Linked DNA regions of Homo sapiens: region 2 is linked to region 1. Evidence: promoter capture Hi-C in 16 types of primary human blood cells and fetal thymus (Javierre and others, 2016). All regions are on one chromosome and are shown on one strand. The core of a region is centred on a gene start or on the middle of the fragment in contact, and the rest is flanking DNA. Distances in the headings are between cores, read along the strand shown.

Region 1 (5,365 bases), core at 1,405-3,904:
TTTGGGGGAAGGGGAGAGGGGAGGAAGAGAGACCGGTGAGCTTGGCTGAGTTGTGTATTTATAGAGTGATCCTTCCAGTGCCTACAGGGAGTGTTTATGGTGTGTAACCACAACAGAACAGGGACTGCCATTTGTAGCCACAACTCCATTCCAAATGTTACCAGGCCCAAAGCCAGTAGCTGAAGAAGCTGTCTACTATAAGGCATAAATCTCAGCCTTCGCTCAGAATAGCCAAGGCTGAGTCACGGGGCACATGTGTAAAGGCATTTTACACAGAAAGGTGAGATGTTCCCTGGAGTGATGTGAAAGGTTCCAGGATGACTGCTGCCTGCCCCAAATCCCAGCTACCTCTCCCAACCCCACCCTCCTTCAACTGCCATCCATATTCCCAGTCCCCTGAATTCCATCATCGGAGACCCATTTGCTTTGATATCTCAACCTGGGTATCCATTTTGAGTGCAAATGCTTTGGAGAAATGTGACTTCCCAGGCTGACTTGCCAGCCATTCTGCGTGGGATAAGCATCTTATTACATGCAGCGAGAAGAGGCAGTAAAATGGGGGTGTTACGATGTCCATAATTTACTTTCAAACATTTCAGTATACTGTAATATTATGCAGTGTTAGTCAATTTAAGCTATATCCTAAAGGCAATCAGTTACATTTATCAGAAATTCACACTCTAGAGGTAGTCCTCTAACATTTATACAAAAAGAAATCATCACTCTAGAGGCATCTTCTACAATCACTTCATTTCTCTTAATTTTTAATCAAACCCAGAAACTCTGCTGGTTAGTATAACATTGGAAATAAGTTTTGGTTTTCATAATTATTATCTTATTAATTAGCATAAAGGATGCCAAAAGTGGATGCTCATGGGTAAGATTACTTATATTCAAGATACATGGAGTAGCTAAAATATTTTAGATACTTTCTACTCTTGCACGAAGAGGGCAAAATAATTATAGTCTTGTAGCCTGTATCTTGAGAATGATGCCTAGGGTGTTATCCCTAAATGGTCCTGTGGCTAGCCAAGAATTAGGAGGTTTCTTGTTGCCTGATACTGACTATAAGATTAACTGAATCTTTTTTTTCTTGTGGTAAAATATATATGACATAAAATTTACTGTTTTTAAGTGTATAGCTCAGTGGCACTAAATACACTCATATTGCTCTACAACCATCACCTTAAAACTCTCTACTCATTAAACAATAGGTCCCCAGTCTCTCCTTCCACCAGCCCCTGGGACCACTGTTCTACTTTCTGTGTCTGTGAATTTGACTACGCTAAGTACTCATGTAAGTGGAATTATACAATATTTGCCCTTTGTAACTGACTTGTTTCACTTAGCATAATGTTTTCAACTTCATCCAAGTGGTGGCATGTGCCAGGATTTCCTTCCTTTTTAAGGCTAATATTCCATTGCATGTATATACCACATTTTGTTTATCTACTCACCTGTTGATGGACATTTGGGCTATTATGAATAAATGTTGCTACAAGCATTGGTGTACAAACATCCATTTGAATCCCTGCTTTCAGTTCCTTTGTGTATAAACTCAGAATGTAGAATTGCCAGATCAAACAGTAATTCAATATTTAATGTATAGAGGAGTCTCCACACTGTTTTCCACAGTGGTTGCACCATTTTAACATTCCCACCAGCAATGCACAGCGTTCCAATTTATTGACATCCTCACCAACACTAGCTGTTTGGTTTTGTTTTTTGATGATAACTATCCTAATGTATGAGATGGCGAGAAAGAATGAATCTTGCCTCTAGAATATTATCACCTTCCCCTGAAGGAATGTTTTATGCAAGGTGAGATCACAACACCTAAAAGGACAGTAAACTGGGACTTTTCTGAGCTCACAGAGATTCCAGGACTCATTTTATGCCTGCTTCTTCATTTGTTGTGTGGCAGAATTTGGTCTGGGACTTGCTTTCCTTAGAACCTCATAGCCAGGTTATGGGAAGTAACTAACCATCACCTGCCACTAATTAATGACAGCTGCCATGATATAACAAAAGAGCCTGGGTTTCTAAATTGGCTTAGGTGGGTTTTCACTGGGGGTGGTGGTAGGGTTTCTCTGAGATGAGTTGCCCCTGCGTCATGGTTTTCCCCAAAGATGGCGCCACTCTTCCTAATAACAACCCCAGAGTAATTCCCTGACAATAAAGCTTTGGTTCTAGACAGACAGCCCATGGGACATGTAAGTCGCTCCATAGTAGGATCAGAAATTACTCAGATCTTACACAACTCAGCCCATCTCAGCCCTTCTTGGTCCCTCTGCCTGTCAGCACGTACCTGTCTACTGTGGCCACGGGCAGGGCCCCATGAGCAAGGTGTTGTCGGAGCATGTGCCTCAACACTCCTTTGCTTTCAGTCACCTGGCGATAGTTGCTCCAGAAAATTCCACTCAGAAGGATCACAAACCCCAGAGGCAGAAGCAAATAGGCCGCAATCAGGCTCCCCTGACAGTCGAATATGGAGCCCCAGGAAATGAAGAAGGCCCCCAGGCAGACCATCAGGAAACCCATCAGGAGGGCAAGAGCACAGAGAATGAGGCCAGTTCTGTTCTGCATCCTTGCACCTTAGGAACCCAGCACCCTGACCCTGCTGCTCCTCTGCTTCCCTGCTTGCTCCAAGAGAATGAGCTCATTAGCCAGCTTGCAGCTTTATATGCTCTGGGACCCACTGGCCTTTGGACAACTAAATGAAACAGGCACTTAGAAGCTATTCATTAACCATTGAAAGTAAGTGTAATATCCTTGGAGAATTAGCCAAAAAACATAGCATTGTATACTGCAGGCAGGAGTGGCTTCGTGTAGCTGTTTTGTTCTTCAGAGTTGGGTGGGACACTCAGCTGTTCCCAGTTATTTGAACGTACAGCCCTCCTTTGATTAAAAGGCGCTGGTCTCTTAATCCCCATGGAGGGCAATTCCCCACTAAAAGCTGGAGAAGTTAGCACTCTTTAAAGAACGATCTTCTTTGAGGTTTGGTAAGAAATCCCTTCCTGATTCCTTCTCCCTTTTTCTGTACTAAAAAGGCATTTCTTCAAGGCTGTTAACATGTTTGTCTTGCCTCCCTCAATGAATCCCCACTTATTGCCCCCACACTATGATACTGGCATAATTCCAAGACAGAAGTTCAGAGTGTGAACTTCGTGGTTCCTGCTCTGTTGACAAGATCGAAAGAGCCTGAGTGGGAGGGAAAGGAGAGTGCTGGAGAAAAGGACTATAATAGACAGAGCCTCGGGAATTTGGGGGGATTTTGGGCCTGTAATTCCTGCAATCTTTCCCCCTTTCATAAAGTACATATGAAATAGAATTCGTTTTAGAGGATGCTGCTAAAAATGTTCCCTGTCCTCTCCTCCACACCTCTGCTCTATGTAGCATTGCCTCAAAAAATCTTTCCAGAACCAGCCTTCTGTTTCCTGGCTGGAATTTGTTTTCTTTAGCTTGACTGTCTTTGATTGTGGATAGCTTATTTCAGACGTGCTTTATGCCCTGGCTCTGCCCTTTTTTATTTGATAATGTGGCATGTCTCTGCCAAAAGTCTCCTTCCCATAGGAACCCTGGGTTGCTTTTACTCAGGATAGCTTATCTTCAGTTCCTCTTTGCTGCTGTTCCACTCCACTACTCCATTACCATTATTTTCCATTTACTTTCCCAATGAGAGCAGCAGTTTTTTGTGGCGTGCCCTAATAATCCCTCATATAACCTTTAGTCTCACACTCACCATCTCCTTAGCTCTACCTTCATGTTAGGGCTGGGAGACACGGATATTAGAGAGGTACACACTATGGATCAAAAACTATATAAGGCACTTCTCCATTCCAACCCTTAGCCTTTACCTTTCTTAGCTTCAATTTCGACCTTGAACTACCTTGATCTTCTAGTCTTGATATTGTCTTTGTAATCTTAAAACAGCTCTTATTCCCTCCTTCCCCAAACTGTGAGATGGAATATTTCTAAGATGATCCCTAAGGATCCCACCTCCTGATATTCATGTCCTTGTGTAAGTAATCCTCTCCCCTGAGTGTAGGCTGGACCTAGTGACTTCATTCTAATCAATAGAATATGGTAACGGTGATCGGAAGTTACTTCCGTGGAGGCTACACAAGATTGTGGTTTTCATCTTTCTAGCAGACTCTCTCTATTGTCCTCTTGGCTTACGCCCTTTGAAGAAGGAAGCTGCCATATTGGAGAGGCCCATGAGGCAAGGAATTGAGGGCAGGTTCTGGCCAACAGTCACTGAAGAACTGAGGCCCTTAGTCCGTCAGCCCATGAGGAACTGCATCCTGTCAATGACCACGTGAGCTTGCAATCAAATCCTCATCCCACTGAGCCTTGAGATGACTCTGCTCCCAAGCATCACCTTGACTCAGTGACCCTGAAGTAGAGGACCCAGGTAAGTCATACTCGGATTCCTGACCCACAGAAACTGTGAGATAAAACGTTTCAGCCAGGGTCCTGGATGCCACAAGATGGCAAGAGCCATAATCAATGAATGCATTATGATCAAATCATTTCATGTTTATGGATGTCACTATTTTAACAAATAAAAGAGGTCAAAAGTTTAAAAAAAGTATATTTTAAAAATATGCTAAGTTTTGTGGCCATTTTTTAGATAGCAGTAGATAACTAAAAAAATTCTCTTAGAACTTTGAAAATCAGAAGAGACAATCAATGTTAAGTATTTATCATAGTACCTGGCACAGAGAGTGCCCTGTGAAGGTTATCTATAATCACCATCACCAATATTGTTATTATCATTGCTGTTACAATTCCAAAAATCTGTGGAAGACCCAGGACCCCCAGCTGAAAGGTCTGCACTAGGAGTTGGGTCCCAGGAACAGGTAGATGGTAAAGCCCCAGGATAATGTTAAGAATCAGGTGATGGAGGAAGAGTACTCTCAATCGGAACTGCCCATCAGACAGTTGGGCTTCTCTGTTTTAGACAAAAATGGAGGCAGAAATTAGACTGGGGATTATGACAGGTCAGGCCTCATTCTTGTGATCACATCAACACATGAGTAAATAAGTTTCTCTATACTTTTTCCTCCTCCATGCCAATAAAGTACACTAGAACCATTGCCTTATAGTTTGTCAGACAGTTCCTTCCCCTCCAGTGCCCTTTGAGGAGGCTCCTGTCATTCCACAGCAGTGTTGTTGTTGTGATGGTGGTGGTGGTATGTTTTTGGTGAGAAATTAGGTATGGAAGAGCAAAATCCAGGAAGTGGCAGGGGGATGGAAGGACTCAGTCCCTTTACATAAAATTTATGTGAAATTAAGAATAGTTCCTGGGCTCAGGGTATTTGAGGAATTTATTTTGGGCATCAAGGGGAAAAGGCTGGGAATA
Region 2 (5,365 bases), core at 846-3,345, 220 kb after region 1:
CTGACTCTTGTGCCTCCCTCTTAAAAGAACCCTTGTGACTACACTGTGCTCACTGCATAATCCAGGATAATCTTATTTTAAGGTCAGCTGATTAGCAATCTTAACTTCACCTGCAGCCTTAATTCCCCTTGCCGTGTGATAGACTATAGTCACAGTTTCCAGGGGTAAGGATGTGGACATCTTTTGGCAGCCATTATTCTGCCTATCGCATTGCCATCTTTCTGAGTTTTTAAAGTTTTAACCAATAATTGCAGAGCTAGTAATTTATTTTCCTCTGTTCCCTTTTCGCACTCTGAATTAGTTAATGGATGGCAGGAATCAACTGAAAAAATTAGGGCTAAGTAATGTCCTGGATTAACTGAAGAGATTCTCTTCAGGGAAAGCTGTCACAATCTCCAGCTATTTCTTAAAGCTGGTTATGTGTAGAAGGTTCTTTTACCTAAGATCATGTTCCTATCCACAAAAAGACAGAAACTATGTCCTTTTAAAAGAAATAAAATGCATTATCTAAGCTTAATTTTTTTTATTTCTAATCAAAAATATCATAAATGTTTGCCAAAGTTCATTGTGCAATTTTTTCTCCCTGCTGAGCAGGTGGCTGAAAGTCGTGGAATGTTGTTTTTCTGAATACAGATTCATAATGCCCATAGTGAACATGCTCATTAAAATAGAAAAATTAGACTGTATTAATTTGCATTTCAGTCCACTCTTGGGTAGATTTGTTATGTGTAGTTCTCACTATAATTATCTGCGTCTTTGGAAATGCCACATCTATTTGCAGATTAATTATGCCATTATCAAAGGCTTAGAAGGAAATCTTCAAAATTCATTGTTAACATTTAAAGAAAATGCACAGGAAGCTGATATAGAAGAGATAAACCAGAGATTTTTCTGAGTGTACTTATAGTGGGCAACAGAACTAACACTTATCTTTAGGTTAATGGTATTATTTAGACTTGCACTTATGAAGTGTTGATTTAGAGGATAATACATTGGTTAAGAGGGCTCAGTGGTTAAGTTCCATTTCACATTTATTGTGATCTCTGTTTCAGCCACTTAGTCACTTAGAAACGTTTATGAGTGTATGGGATGTGCCACTTCCTTTAGAAGACAATGGGGATACTATCCTTAGAGCTCCCATACTGTACAACTCCACGTGTTAACATTTTCCTCACTCTGTAGTCTATATGAGTGGTACCCTCTGGAGTAGCGCAGTTATCGAATATGAGGCTTAATGCAAGGATCCTGGCATTCTCTATGACAGAGGCTGTGCACAGTGGGGAACAGATTCACAAACAGACTCATGTTATGTGTGAATGGGTACATACGGTAATAAGAGCACAGAAGAAGGGAGCATCTGACTTTTCTTAGGATGGACCGGGATATCTGGGTTTTTCAGAGGAAGCTTTGCTCAAACAGAGTCTTGAAGGATCAATAGGAAATGGTGAGACAAGAAAAAGTTGGATGATTTTCTGGGCCAAGCCAGCAGCCTGTGCAGAGGAAAAGAGGTATGCAAAAGCATGCTACATTTACAAGACTTGCAGATATTTGAGTATGACTTAAGTGTGAGATTCATGTGGGCATGTGAATGAGGCAAAGCGTTTAACCTTCCTGTGCTTTACTTCCCCATTTAGTAAAACCAATAAAACAACACTACCTACCTTGTGGGGTTTTGTGAGTTTTAAATGAGATATCATCAGTAAAATGCTTAGGTTAGGCTTGATATATAAAAAAGCACTCAACGAATGTCAGCTGCCTTTGAGACGATGATGATGATCACAATGATATTACATGAGGTTGAAAAATTAGGCAAAAGCTACAGATTCTGTGCTAAGGAGTTTTGACATAATACTGTTGGCTGGGGAAATTGTGAAGGATGTTAAAAAAAAATACAATTCACAGCTCTATAGATTTATAAACTCCGTGTCATCATTTAGCAAGGCTGATTAGACCCCATGAATTGATGCATACTACTTGAAATCATTTAGAGAGACTGATGAAGAAAAATGCCATTTTATCAATTTACACTCAAAATAGAAACCACTCAGCATGCTGTGATAATTATGGCAATGAGGTGGTGTATTTCCTTCCTATGAATTGGTAAATCTCCTTGAGCTCCTATGTGAACATCACATGGTTTCTTAAGTGAGGATGAGGAGAGTCAGAGTAAATGTAGATGAGTGCTTTGAAAGGCTGGTGGATTAGCCTTGCTCACTTACTACATGTCTGGCAGGGAGATGAGAAACAGGACCTGGTTGGTACCTTCTCTGGAAATGCTGGTTACACTCTGATCTTCTCCTCCCTCTCCTTTTACAGATATCCCTTTTTTGGACACCCCTCTACTATAACTTCTTTTTTTTTTTTTTTTTTTTTTTTTTGGAATCATCACCTTTGTTTCAGCATGCTTTCAGGAGATGTCAATGGTTTTCCAGTTCATCTTGATTTTTTTAAAGGTGGCTGCTCTTTGGTGATATTTTGGGGTTTACTTTTATCTCAACAATAAGTGGTCTCCATAGTGTTCATCTATTCATTGCATTCAGCACCTAAACAGTGCGTTATTTTTGGGAATAGTCAGTTCAACCCATCCACTGTGGGAGAATTCACAGTACTATTGATTACATAGGATGGCATTTTCACTTCTAAATGTCATCTTATTTTCCTAACTTGTTGTTTTAATCATCTCTAACATTAGATTTTGAGATCCATTCTGTTTGAGGACCTGTAGTTCAATGAATGAGTTGGGAGTATAAAATTTGTCTCATGAAGTTGCTATATTTGTATAATAATAAGCTTAACTCATCAAGTTACTACTGTAGGCCTTTAGAATTTGGGTATCTTTCTAGTGAATGCTTTAGGGATATAAACATTTATTTTACTGGATTTTCATACTACTGTTTAATGCTATAATGTTACCTTATACATTCTACCAAGCATTGTAAGCTCAGACAAATTAGGCAATAATTTGTCAAAACAAAAAGTAATAATGCTAGCAAAGACAAAGAATTTATGCTAGTTACAGGTGATAAACTAAAGCTTTCCTCGTCCTCACCTTCATTCTGTGGTCTCTTAACCATAAACATCAATGTAGCAAAGAAAAATTGATTTTGTAATTGATTTTGAAATTGTAATTACCTTGATTTCCTTAGTGATGGTTATTTAAAATACTGAAGCATTTTAAGCTAAATAAAACTAATTTTAAAATAAAACTAATTTTTATTTTAAAAAAAAGTGGAGAAGGCCCATGTAAATTCCCTGCCTTTTAGAACATGCATTCTGAATATTGTTTTAAAGCATTTCAACAAAAATGCTTTGATGGAATGCTACAGTCACTGCTCATTATCTTGAATTCACTTGCAGGTCATTTGTTCTTAACTGTTTTTTTAAAAAAGTGAGTGTTTACATGTTTTTACTCCAAAGGAAATCAGTTACAATTGTTCATAATGGGTGCTTATTTAAAAACGAAAGCTCTGAGAAAAACTGTGCTTCTAATTTTTAATATTTCAAACATTATAGATGTTGGCATTGTGATGAAACAAAACTTGCCACTAGTAACATTTTAATGGTCTTTTCCATGGAGCAGTTGGAGATGAAACTGTGTCATAAAATATTTATTAAAATGCTTATACTTTACTGAAAATTTGAGGGTGTACCTGTGCTGTACTGAATTCTGTGTTCTAGCAAATATTTCATAATGATGCCTAGTACAAATTTTTATTAATGCAACATGGAGAAAATGGTCGTTCTCTTGTCTGAGTTGGATTAAAGCAAAGTTCCAAGCAGAAGTGCCAGAGCTATTTTTAAATGTACAAGGCATGCATTTTTTTCTTTTAACATAAATTCTCCATCAAAATAGGACCTAAGATTTTAAGAAACAAATATAATTTATTATGGCTATTTTGTGTTTAGAGAGATACTAATAGATTAGAGAAAGTGATTTGCCATTTATTGAGAAGGGCCAAAAAGCACATTAAAATATCCAATTTGTTAGTAACTTTTGAAAATGCAAACTTAAAAAAGTGCCACTTTTTGTTATCTAAGTCTAAGGCTAAGAAGAATGATCATACCAAGGTTGAAGTAGAGGTGGAGAACAAGCACTGTCAGATCTGTTGGGAATGACAATTGATGTAGACTTTCTCAAGGGTGATGTGTTTACAAGAAGCCTTGCTATACATATCCTCTGATCTAGCAGTTCCACTGCTGGAAATTTAACCTTAGGAAGTAATTGGACAAGGGGCCAAAAAATAAGACAATGATATTCATGATAGCATTGTTTCTAATCTCAAATATTGGAAACACCTTAAATTTCCATTAGTAGATAATCAAATTATGGCTCTTTTATCCACTGAGTACCTTGTAGCTATATAGAATGATATTGTGTAGGAAAAGATGGCATAATATGGTAAGGAGGTGACAACTTGGTATGTATAATATGGTTAAAAAAGAATGTGCACTAAGACTTGGTGGATATCTATAACAAAATGTTAACAGAGGCTACCACTGGATAATGGATTGCAGGAAACTTTTACTTTGTTTTTTGCTGCTTTTTTTATATATGAAATAAATACATCTCTTATAAGCAAAAACTATTGTTATAAATGTATCTATCTTTGATTTAGCACTTCTACTTTGAATAATCTGTCCAACAAAATGAACGTACAAAGATCTTATATAATGTTCAATGCAGCACTGTTAAAAATAGTTGAAAAAAATTAACCTACCTGCTTATCCCCTATTAGAAATATGTATAAGAAGGTCATGGAATAGCCATACTTCACAGCCATTGAAATTGAAGATGTAAGTCTATATTTACTGATATGGAAAAAGTGTTCACAACAAATATGGAAAGGGCAAGTTAATAAACATTGCATTATGTAGATAGGTAGGTATGTACACAGATAAAAATCTGGAATGCTTTTTATTACAGTGTCAAAAGTAATTGTTTCTGGGTGATGGGATTGTGGGTAATTTTCAACTATTTTTTTCTATGTGTCTGTATTTTAAATTTTTTTACAATAAATAAATATCTCTTTATTACCAAAACAAAGGTAAAAAATCAACAATATCAGATATCAAAAAGGAGAAGTAACCAAAAAATATTGTTAGGTACTACATGAAACACTATGGAGATAGGTGAAGTAAGTGGTATTTCTAGGAAAATTTACTTTATTAAAGTGGTCCCAGGAGAGAGTCAGTAACCATGAAAGAAATAAAAATGTTATCAAAAGATGCTTTCTAAATTCAAAGTGCAGGCCCCCAGATAGCCCAAGTAAATTCTTCAAATAGTCAGGGATATTGATATTAAGTAGGGTAACTATATAGTTTATTGAAGGGAGCTTTAATTGAGAGAACCAGTATAAACTAGAAT

The links. The method cuts DNA at HindIII sites, captures the fragments that hold promoters and counts their contacts. A CHiCAGO score of 5 or more calls a contact.
Region 2: a fragment that was not itself captured here is called in contact with the fragment with the promoter of TMEM252 in region 1 in 2 of 17 cell types (naive B cells and neutrophils); the score reaches 6.1 in naive B cells.

The regions. Positions count from the first base shown.
Region 1 is chr9:68,538,229-68,543,593 of GRCh38, forward strand. TMEM252 (transmembrane protein 252) reads right to left here and starts at 2,655. Exons shown (of 2, transcript NM_153237.2): 1 at 2,309-2,655. The coding sequence starts at 2,586. It overlaps TMEM252-DT (TMEM252 divergent transcript), which reads left to right and starts at 2,797. Exons shown (of 5, transcript NR_187592.1): 1 at 2,797-3,002; 2 at 4,150-4,414. LINC01506 (long intergenic non-protein coding RNA 1506) reads right to left here. Exons shown (of 4, transcript NR_109769.1): 4 at 5,313-5,365. The HindIII fragment of the contact is 3,743 bases long and covers 2,180-5,365 here.
Region 2 is chr9:68,761,723-68,767,087 of GRCh38, forward strand. All of the region lies in intron 2 of PIP5K1B (phosphatidylinositol-4-phosphate 5-kinase type 1 beta), which reads left to right. Among named protein-coding and RNA genes, the nearest start is that of PABIR1, 16 kb to the right of the region's middle. The HindIII fragment of the contact is 1,385 bases long and covers 1,404-2,788 here.